Linked DNA regions of Homo sapiens: region 2 is linked to region 1. Evidence: promoter capture Hi-C in 16 types of primary human blood cells and fetal thymus (Javierre and others, 2016). All regions are on one chromosome and are shown on one strand. Each heading gives the region's core, a stretch centred on a gene start or on the middle of the fragment in contact. The rest is flanking DNA. Distances are from core to core; before and after follow the strand shown.

Region 1 (5,266 bases), core at 1,028-3,527:
CTGAATATCCACATGCTGGATAACAAAATTGAGTCCTTATCTCACACCATATACAAAAATCAACTCAAAATAGATTAAAGTCTCAAACATAACACCTGAAACTGTAAAACTAATAGAAGATAACATAGGTGAAAACTCCATATTAGTCTGGGCAATGATTTCTTGGATAGGACCCCAAAAGCAACAAAAGCAAAAATAGACACATGGGATTGCATCAAACTAAAAAGCCTCTGCACAGCAAAGAAAATAATTAACAGAGTAAAGAGACAACCCACAGACTGGGAGAAAATATTTGCAAACCATGCATCTGATAAGGGGCTCTTATCTAAAATATATAAGAAACTCAAAAAACTCAACAGCAAAACAAAACAAAACGAATAACCCGGTTAAAAAATGGACAAAGAACCTGAACAGGTATTCCTCAAAAGAAGACATATGAATGGTCAACAAATACATGAAAAACGCTCAACTTTGCTAACCACCAGGGAAATGCAAATTAAATCACACTGAGCTACCACCTCACGCTTGTTAGAATGGCTATTATAAAAAAGATCAAAGACAACAAGTTTTGTCCAGAATGTGGAGAAAAGGGAACCCTGGTACACTGTTGGTGGAATGTAAATTAGTACAGCCATTTTGGAAAACAGTATGGAGGCTCCTCAAAATCTAAAAATAGAATTACCACATGACCCAGAAATCCTACTTCTGGGTATATATACAAAGGAATTGAAATCAGTATGTTGAAGAGATAGCTGCATTCCTGTGTTGTTTTCAGCATTATTCACAATAACCAAGATATAGAAGCAACTAAGTATCCATCAACTGAGGACCGGATAAAGAAAATGTGGCACATATATACAATGGAATACTATACAGTCTTAAAACAGAAGGCAATTCTGTCATTTGCAACAACATGGATGAACCTGGAGGACATGAGGCCAAGTAAAATAAGCCAGGCACAGAAGGACAAACAGCACATGATCTTACTTATATACTTGGGGTCTAAAAAAGTTGAACTCATAGAAGCAGAGTAGAATGATGGTTACCAGGGGCCTGGCAGAGGGCTGATGTGGAAGGGAGGGATGTTGGTCAAAGGATACAAAGTTTTAGTTAGGTAAGAGGAGTAAGTTTTAGTGATCTACTGCACAGCATGGTGACCATAGTTGATGATGTATTGTATATTTCCAGGAGAGTAGATTTTCACCACAAAAAATAAGTAGGTGAGGTGATGGATATGTCAATTAGCTTGATTTAATCTTTCTACAATGTATACATATATCAAAACATTACACTGTACGCTATAAATATATAAATTTGTCAATAAAAATAATTATATAAATATATATTTATATAAAACAAAATACATGCTAAGGATAATGCAATGAACTGCAAAAAGTTGTACAGGCTCCCAATAAATAATTTTTGAACGCCTAAGAGCTAAATAAATGCAATACATCACTCCCAGGTGTCTCCACTAGGGGGCCCCATTCCCTCCCGTTCCATCACCTGCTTTCCTCAAGGTCGTCTCCACCCTCCTATTTGTTGATACCCGGCCTCTGACCCAGTTCATCACTTTCCCGGGCTTCCGGGCGCCACCCTCTTCAGGTTTTCCTCCTACCCCTCCAGCCCTGCCCCTCTGGATCTCCCATCCTCCCAGCGCGCCAGACTGCATGCGGCCTCCCCGCCCTGTGTCCAAGAGGCAGCTTCCACTCCACGCGGGCAAGCCTGAGCTCCAGAGCCGTCCTCAAGCCGCCTCCCCCCGAAGCACTGGGACTTCATCCTCCCGGCTACTACTCGTGCCCAGGGACTAGGCCCTGAGCCTTCCCTTCTCGCACGCCCCATAGCCAAGCTGCTCAGCAGAACCTGACGGCTCCACCTTCAAACTACGTCCGGAATCCGACCCCTCTCCACGCCCACTGCCTCCACCCCGGCCACCTTCCTCGGTCACCCTGGCAGCTGCAATGACCAGGGTGACCTTTCTGAAAAGGGAGGCTCTGTTCGGAGCCCTCGCGGGGCTCCCCAGCACAGCGGCCTCCCATGCCCACCTGCTCGGGTGGGATTACTTTCCAACCCCGTTTCCATCCCCCTCCCTGGTCTCCAGCCGCAGCGACCCCCACGCAGAGCCCGGAAGACCTTGGGCCCCGCACATGCTGCCGGCCCGCTAAGAGCTCTGGGTACCCCCGGAGCGCCTTCCAGGCTTTCTCCTAGAGGCGCTGTGTCCCGACCGCGCTCCGGACCTGAGCCACGGCTCACCTGGGGCAGCTCGCGCCCCCGAATACAGTCTCCCACGCCCCGCCCCCCGGGGTGCCTCCCTCCCAGCTCTCTGTACCCACCCACCATCCCCCACATCCCTTCCTCCAACCGCTAGCCAGTCACCAGCCCGGGACCGCAGGGCAGAGGCCGGGCCGCGCATGCGCACCGCGGACCGGTGCCACCTCCGCTCGCGAGCCCGCGGCAGGCCCTGGGCGGTGCGCGCAGTCCCGCGAGAGCAGTGCTTGGTCGGGACCTCGAAGCCGGAGCCCGAGCGGGAGAGGCCGCGGAGACCCCGGCCCGGCGCAGGCAGAGACGCACCTGCGGGAGGCGGGCGCGCCGGCTGGAGAGGAGGCCGTGGGGCGGAGCGGCTCAGCGTTCTGCTCGGCTGCAGCGGCCCCTGCCGGAGACCCGGGCGCCGTGGTCTTCTTTATAATTGAAGGATTGTCTCTCTGTTTTTATTTGGGGTGGGGGTGGGGGTGGGGGGCGGCGCAGTGACTTGCTTCGACTTTGTCAGCTTCCAGGGTTCATTCCACTGCCCAAATATGTAGTGAGTTACTACCGGCTTTGCTTCCTCCTTCAGCAAACGGCTGGACCACACAACTTCAGGAGAGAGGATTTTAAATGTTAGGGTCATTTTCCCTAAAACGATTTCAAATGACGGTGAGTTGGTTCCCAGGCTAGGCCACCTAACCTCGAACGCAATGACGAGTGCACTCTGACTGCTGAGCTGAGAGCCTTCCGTGGCTCTGGGACCCAGTGACTCACGTGGCTCCGCATGTCCCCGTTCCCTTAAAATCGGAGTCTTTCCTTTTCTTGGATTCCGGCTTGCCACCAGCACCACTTGGCAGAATGGAATTGCTTGCGGGCATGTCAGTGGACTAGAAAGGGAAGTAAGTGGTCTGAGAACTTGGGGGCCAAAAATGTTACATTAACATTTTTTGCCTACCTAAAATCTCAGCCACTTCCCACAGTTTGGCTGGAAATTCAGCCCATGTTGAGGCCCTTCTCATTCCTGCAGGTGTTACCAGCAACTCAGAGGTTTATGGAGTAACGAAATTGGGGAGGGCCTCACATCCGGCTGCTGTTTTTCCCCCTAACGTGTATGGTGCTTATTCTGAGCCAGACACTTTTAAGAACTGCACATTATTAACCATTTTAAATCGTCCCCACCACCTGATGAAATAGGTACTGTTATCCCCACTTTATGGGTGGGGAAACCGAGGCCCAGGGAGGTCAAGTAACTGCGCAAAGCACAAAACTGTTGAGTAGTAGTGTTACCAGGGCAGTCCTGGAGAAATCGCTCAGAGGGCAAAACTGAGAGCTCATTATTTTCTTAAACAGTAGACAGCTGAAAATGCTCATTGTTTTTTAAACCGTTTTGTTTGTTTGATTTTTTTTCCTAGTCTCTTTATCTATAGGTAACCCAGCTTAAAACAACTGCGGTTGGCCCGGGATCCTCACTGCCCTTTGCCAAGTACCAGAGAAAGATAAGGCCTACTAGGAACCAGAGAAAACCAGAACCAGCCACCCCTTGTTACTTTTAGATCATTAATACATCATTATATGCTCAACTCCCGACCCGTAGAAGAGAATCGCCGCCATTTTCTGATAGTGCATTGTATGAAGAGGCATGTTTATGAAATGCACCTGTGCGTCTAGAGTTCCTCCCGGCATATGCTTGCATACCTCCCCACTCCACATCTAACGCCTTACAATTCCCCAGCTTCCCAAAGCTCTGGAAGAAGGGGGTCTTTAGAGTGAAAGTTTACTCCTTCTCTATTCCTGGCCAGGAATGAAACCCGCTTGCCGTTTTTTCCAGTTGGTGTGCTTTCTTTGCAACTGATACAGACTAGGAAAAGAACGCAATTTACCAGTAACAGTAGAGCTGGGATTTAAATCTAAGTGCTTTGACTTCAAAGACAAGGTTCCAAGCTGCTACACATACCAATTCTCGTTAAAGTGTATTCCATTTCTTTTGTGCTTTCATATTGACCATTGTGTGTTAATCCTTTCAATTGGAAGAAGAGGGAGACAGTGCCAGTTATTGCAAACTTTCACAGTCCACAGGCCCGATATGTAGCCTTCACCACCCACAGGTTCTGCCACTTCTGGGGCATTATATTCCATCAAGATCCAGGCACCCGCCATCCACATACCAGCCCTGGAACTCGTCCCTTCTCCCAGACTTGGAAACGCCACCTCTCCCTGACCAATGTCGAGCCACTTCCTCATCTTGATACATCAGCCACTATCCTTTCCATCTTTCAGGCAACTCCAGCTTAATTTCTCGATGGCCTTGCCCTTCTAAAAGGCCGTTCTCTTTTCCCAGATGACTTTTTCCTATCCCCTCCACAGTAACTCCCCTCATCCTTCCAGTCTCAATTCAATTGTTCCTTGGTGGGGTGGGGCGGGGGGAGCCTTCTTAAACCCTCCTCCCTCACAACTGCATGAGGTCCCTTGTCTCTAATATAAGCTCCTGTAGCACCATGGCACTTATCCCAGTTGAGATTTTAAATATATTTCTGTGTATTTGATTAAAGTTTCTCTCCTCCACCAGGCTGTGAAGGTGGCTTCTTGTTTTGTTTTGCTCCCCGTGGTATTCCCAGCACCTCAGGATCCCTTATAGTAGATGCTGAATTAGTAAATACATATTAAATAAATGAATGAACAATCTCACAGGAAAAGCAGCCTCAAACTCAGAGGATAATGGCTTGGGCTATCTTTACTAAAATTTAAGAGGCGAATGACCTTTTCTTTCTGCTTATGAGTCTGTCTGTAGCAGCACAAAATAAAAAATAAACAAGCAAGATAGAGTTCATTGATAACTCATCCTATTTACAGAGGTTTTCCTGGGACATGTGGGTAGGTGACAGAAAAGTTTAGAAGCACATACACTGGAAAATAATTTTGCCTATTTCCTTTGGTGAGATTCAGACATGTCAAGCTTTAACTCTGGAAAGAAAATCTCTCTCCATCCTGAGTTTTACATCCTCTTGGGATCTCTCACTTTATT
Region 2 (5,266 bases), core at 2,767-5,266, 2.1 Mb before region 1:
GCCTGGTTTAGCTTTCTCCTCTGCCCCTGCCTCACACTGTTGCCTTCAGAACCAGCCAGCAGAGATGGAGGCTACAGGGGTTTGGGTACAATAAAGTGATGGGGCTAGTGCCTGTTTGAATGAGCTGGGAAAGGTGAGGACAAACTGCAGCCTTGACTCCTGAAGTTCATGGATTCTGAAGTCATCGTTGCCTTCCCCTGCAGGGCAGCTTAAGTCTCTCTGCTTAGCTCAGTGGTTCCCAGCCCTGCCTGCATGTTAGAATCACCAGGGAAGCTTTTAAACCGCATGAAGGAGGAGACATCACCTTAGACCAGTTAAACCAGGTGCTCTGGGGGTGCTGAGGTCAGGCACTGGTATTTCTAAAATGCTCCCCATGTGATTTGAAGGTGCAGCCAGGCTTGAAAACTATTACTTAACTGCAATTATAATCATCAATTATTTTAACTACTAATGATCAATTATTACGGCTCCCCCACCAGCATGTATTGACCTGATAGTTAGCTCTAAGTAATCATTGTCTCAAACTTTTTTTTTTTGGCCACTAATTCTTATTAAAGAGTTTCAGTTTGTTATTAAGTTTTCCCACACAAATATATTTCTATGGCACAGTAGTTCAGAAGATGTGATTTCTGAGATGTATTCTCTCTGGGGGAACCATCTATTTGTAAGAGTACAGGACGTGGTTTCCTTTACTCATGTAGAGTCCCTACGCTTTGATGAATGGAGTCACTTGGTCGTTTATGGATATCTTATAGACCATATAGATCCAACCATAGAATAACAAAAAATAAAAGTTTTCCTCCTGTAATGTATCTTTATAGATTATATAGATCTAAACACATATTAACAAAAAATAAACGTTTTCCTCCTTTAATGCAACAGTGTAGTGCCTTCTTTTTTCATCTGAGCAAAAAGATAAGGTTAGGTGCCCAGTCATTTTATGACAGTGGGATACAATTTTGGAACACAAATAGATGCAGCTGAGATCCTTTTACTGTTCTTTCCGTTCAGCTCAGGTAAAATACTCATTTCCAACCTTGCTGTCACTCCCGACAGTGCTTGCCGTCTAGATCTATTATTATAGCTTCTGTCTTCCGACCTTGATATTCTCTAACTACCCCCTTCTCTCCTGTTCTTCAGCTGCGTTCTAATCTTTACTCTCTGAGGTTGGAACTCTCCTCCTTCACCTCCCTGATTTCTGTCTCTGCTTTTCTTTTCAAAATGCTGTGCTGATATCACCTTTCCAGCTTTATCTAGCTTACCTCATTCTTAAAAATACTCATTGCTTCACGAGAAACATTTACAGCTTTTACATGGATTCTTCTGTAACCATTAAACTCTTAAAAATTAAAGATATCAAAAATATTTACATGTTGGCTTTTTAAAAACATCACAAATAATAACAACACACTGTAAATATCTTTACAAATCTAAGTCAGGTTCCTGCAAAGCAATTAACCATAGTCCCTTTCCAATTACTCTAAAAGAGCTCTGCCAATGAAATGGTATGAACTTTTCTGGGTTCTACAGCCCCTTCTTTTTTTTCCTGCTTTTTTTTTATTATTATTATACTTTAAGTTTTAGGGTACATGTGCCAAGTTGGTGTGCTGCACCCATTAACTCGTCATTTAACATTAGGTATATCTCCTAATGCTATCCCTCCCGCCTCCCTCCACCCCACAACAGGCCCCAGTGTATGATGTTCCCCTTCCTGTGTCCATGTGTTCTCACTGTTCAATTCCCACCAATGAGTGAGAACATGCGGTGTTTGGTTTTTTGTCCTTGCGATAGTTTGCCGAGAATAATGGTTTCCAGCTTCATCCATGTCCCTACAAAGGACATGAACTCATCATTTTTTTCACTGCATAGTATTCCATGGTGTATATGTGCCACGTTTTCTTAATCCAGTCTATCATTGTTGGACATTTGGGTTGGTTCCAAGTCTTTGCTATTGCGAATAGTGCCACAATAAACATATGTGTTCATGTGTCTTTATAGCAGCATGATTTACAGTCCTTTGGGTATATACCCAGTAATGGGATGGCTGGGTCAAATGGTATTTCTAGTTCTAGATCCCTGAGGAATCGCCACACTGACTTCCACAATGGTTGAACTAGTTTACAGTCCCACCAACAGTGTAAAAGTGTTCCTATTTCTCCACATTCTCTCCAGCACCTGTTGTTTCCTGACTTTTTAGTGATCGCCATTCTAACTGGTGTGAGATGGTATCTCATTGTGGTTTTGATTTGCATTTCTCTGATGGTCAGCGATGATGAGCATTTTTTCATGTGTCTTTTGGCTGCATAAATGTCTTCTTTTGAGAAGTGTCTGTTCACATCCTTTGCCCACTTGTTGATGGGGTTGTTTTTTTCTTGTAAATTTGTTTGAGTTCATTGTAGATTCTGGATATTAGCCCTTTGTCCGATGAGTAGATTGCAAAAATTTTCTCCCATTCTGTAGGTTGCCTGTTCGCTCTGATGGTGGTTTCTTTCGTACCACCCCTTCTTTAATAGCATCTTTCTCTTTGGTTCTAACTCCGCCAAATCCTCATTTATCACTTTGTCTCCAATAAGAATCTGCTGAGACAGGAAACCCCCTTTCATCAACGAGTAGGGCTTCTCAAATGTTAACATGAATAAAAATCACCCGGGGGGTCTTAATAAAACTCAGATTCTGATTCAGTAGGGCTGGCTGGGGCCTACGATTCTACCTTTGCAGGAAGCTCCCAGATGATGCGGCTGCTGCTGGTCAGGGAAGCACTATTTCAGGAAACTTCTTAGCAGCTTTGGTGCTCACCCCAAACGTTGTATCACCAAAGCTTTTCCTGGGCGCAACTAATATGCTCTCAAAAAATCAACTCTCTGCTGGGCGCGGTGGCTCATGCCTGTAATCCCAGCATTTTGGGAGGCCAAGGCAGGCGGATCACTTGAGGTCAGGAGTTTGAGACCAGCCTGTCCAACATAGTGAAACCTTGTCTCTACTAAAAATACAAAAATTAGCTGGGCGTGGTGGCGGAAGCCTGTAATCCCAGCTACCCAGGAGGCTGAGGCAGGAGAATCACTTGAACCCAGGAGGTGGAGGCTACAGTGAGCCAAGATTGCACCACTGCACTCCAGCCTAGGTGACAGAGGGAGACTCCGTCTTAAAACAAAACAAACAAAAAAACCCCAAACAAACAACAATCAACTCTCAACCAATTCCTGAATTAAGATTAGGTCAATAGCTTCCATACTGATGTTGGTTCTCAAACTGTACTTAAAAGCTTTGTTTTTTTTTTCATTTTGCCAATCCATCTTCCTAGTTTCTGGCTGATTACTGTTACTTATGTAAACACGACATGTCACATGCTTCAACTCTTGGTCCTTAATCATTCCTCCTGAGCAACTCATGTACAACAGTAGTTATTTTCTAATTTTTTTAATATTTACTTCTTTAAATCATAAATTATCTTTTTATTAGCACTTTTAAAACTTTCACTGTTTTTTAATTTAATAGATATGATGGAATTAAGAATGTTCAGAAAGCACCTCAAATACAAACATGCCATAGACTAATAAACAGTGCATTGGTCAAGACAGAAATGATCAGGCACAACCAGTAAAGCTATTTTTTAGTGACAGGCAAGAGTCTTTTTTGAGTGGATTTGGTGCTTTGTTGGAATGTATGAAACTTAGTAAATTGAAAGCTTATGTGTAGAGTTTAATTGAATAAAAGAAAAAAATTTAATATTTCCCAGTACTTGTGGTTTTCAAATCTACTAGATACTAAGGGACCTGTCTGTAGATTTGATCATTTGATCACTTGCTTTGTTCCAGGCACTGTTTCTGAGAGGTAGAAGAAGGCTCAATAAACAGCACTCCTCTTTCTTACTTGTCTGAGCAAACTGAGAAATAAAACAATAGTGTCAGCATAAAGAGGCCAAAATATCACTTTTATATCTAGGAAGACTGATGGAACACATGGCTTATATTCATGGGCAAGCAGAACTTCTAGTACCCAGTCACAAAAAGCACTGGGTTGCCCTTCAAGCCTGTCTTTAGGCAGCAGAATGAATGCTCTTTGTTGGAAGTGTTCACTCAACAAAAAGAAAAGAAGATGAGACCAAGCTCCTTACTTCTAGCTCACTAATCATCGTAGTCACCTCTTCCCCACCAGGAGAGGCTGGGTACTTCTTTATGTTAGCAGAAGAGCTCCCTTCCCATGGAAGAAAACATCAAGAGTGGGGAAGAGGTGGTCCCCCAGCTACAAGCTAAGTCCTTTATCTTATTTAACTCCTGCAACAAGACATTTACTGGGTGTCTGTTATGTGCCATTCACTGTTTTCATTGCTGGGGATGCAAAGCTTAATAAGACAGAGCAGTTTACATCTGGGCCTGTACTTGTGCTACTTACCTCACTGGCCTCATCCAATCCCAGCCCTAACAGATCCTGTGTATTTAAAATTTTGATATTTTGTTCATCACAGATTTTTTTTCATTAATTTTGAATTTTTTAAATATTGTATTAAAATATTACTTATCTTGATTACTGAGCTTTTTGGCTCCCGTAAATTTTGTACCTGAGGTGAATGCCTTATTTGTCGTGGTTTTAAAATATGTTTGTAAACAACTAAATTAATAAATAGCAAATAATTATTGAATAAATTTTCTAATGTGTACTAAGTTGAGAAACAGGCTACGTGATAGGAAGTGATTGGGTGTGTAACTTGAATGGTAAGTAAAACCTATCTAATGTGATGCTATTTAGGATGTGACCCTTATGTTATAAGGAGCCAGACAAGGGACAGTTTGGAGAAAAGTTTGTGAAAACACCACAGGTGGAAATAAACCTGGAATTTTCTAAGAACACACCAAAAAAAAAAAAAAAAAAAAGGCTATTATGTCTTAATTGTCAAGGACATGATAGGTGACTAGTAATCAATTTGGATACAGTGCTAGAAAACATTCAAATTTTAGGGCTTTTTAAGGGGGTAAGTAGTTTGAATTTTATTCCAAGTGCCCAGGAGGCAATTGGAAGATTTTAAGCAGGGGAGCAACGTGATCCGATTGATCTTTTAAATAACTCTTTCTGGCTGCTGTGTCAAGGATGGATTATAGGGGTGTGTATGGCAAAAGAGTAGAATCTGGAAGAACTGTCTGTGTTCCCATTGAAAGAGGATGGTGCCTTCGACCAGGATAAATATAGTGAAGATATAGAAAGAGAAGGAGGTTCCAGAAATACTTCAGGAGTAGAGTTGATTGGATTTGATGGGTTAATATGGGGAATG

The links. The method cuts DNA at HindIII sites, captures the fragments that hold promoters and counts their contacts. A CHiCAGO score of 5 or more calls a contact.
Region 2: a contact is called between a fragment that was not itself captured here and the fragment with the promoter of SIRT5 in region 1, in 1 of 17 cell types (fetal thymus). The highest score is 7.8, in fetal thymus.

The regions. Positions count from the first base shown.
Region 1 is chr6:13,571,612-13,576,877 of GRCh38, reverse strand. It overlaps SIRT5 (sirtuin 5), which reads right to left and starts at 2,277. Exons shown (of 10, transcript NM_012241.5): 1 at 2,134-2,277. It overlaps LOC105374937 (a long non-coding RNA gene), which reads left to right and starts at 2,444. Exons shown (of 2, transcript XR_926497.4): 1 at 2,444-2,913; 2 at 3,657-4,806. RefSeq lists enhancers at 1,340-1,925, 1,515-1,994, 1,926-2,512 and a silencer at 2,205-2,724. The HindIII fragment of the contact is 7,984 bases long and covers 1-5,199 here.
Region 2 is chr6:15,664,081-15,669,346 of GRCh38, reverse strand. No RefSeq gene overlaps it. Among named protein-coding and RNA genes, the nearest start is that of DTNBP1, 3.7 kb to the right of the region's middle. The HindIII fragment of the contact is 657 bases long and covers 3,688-4,344 here.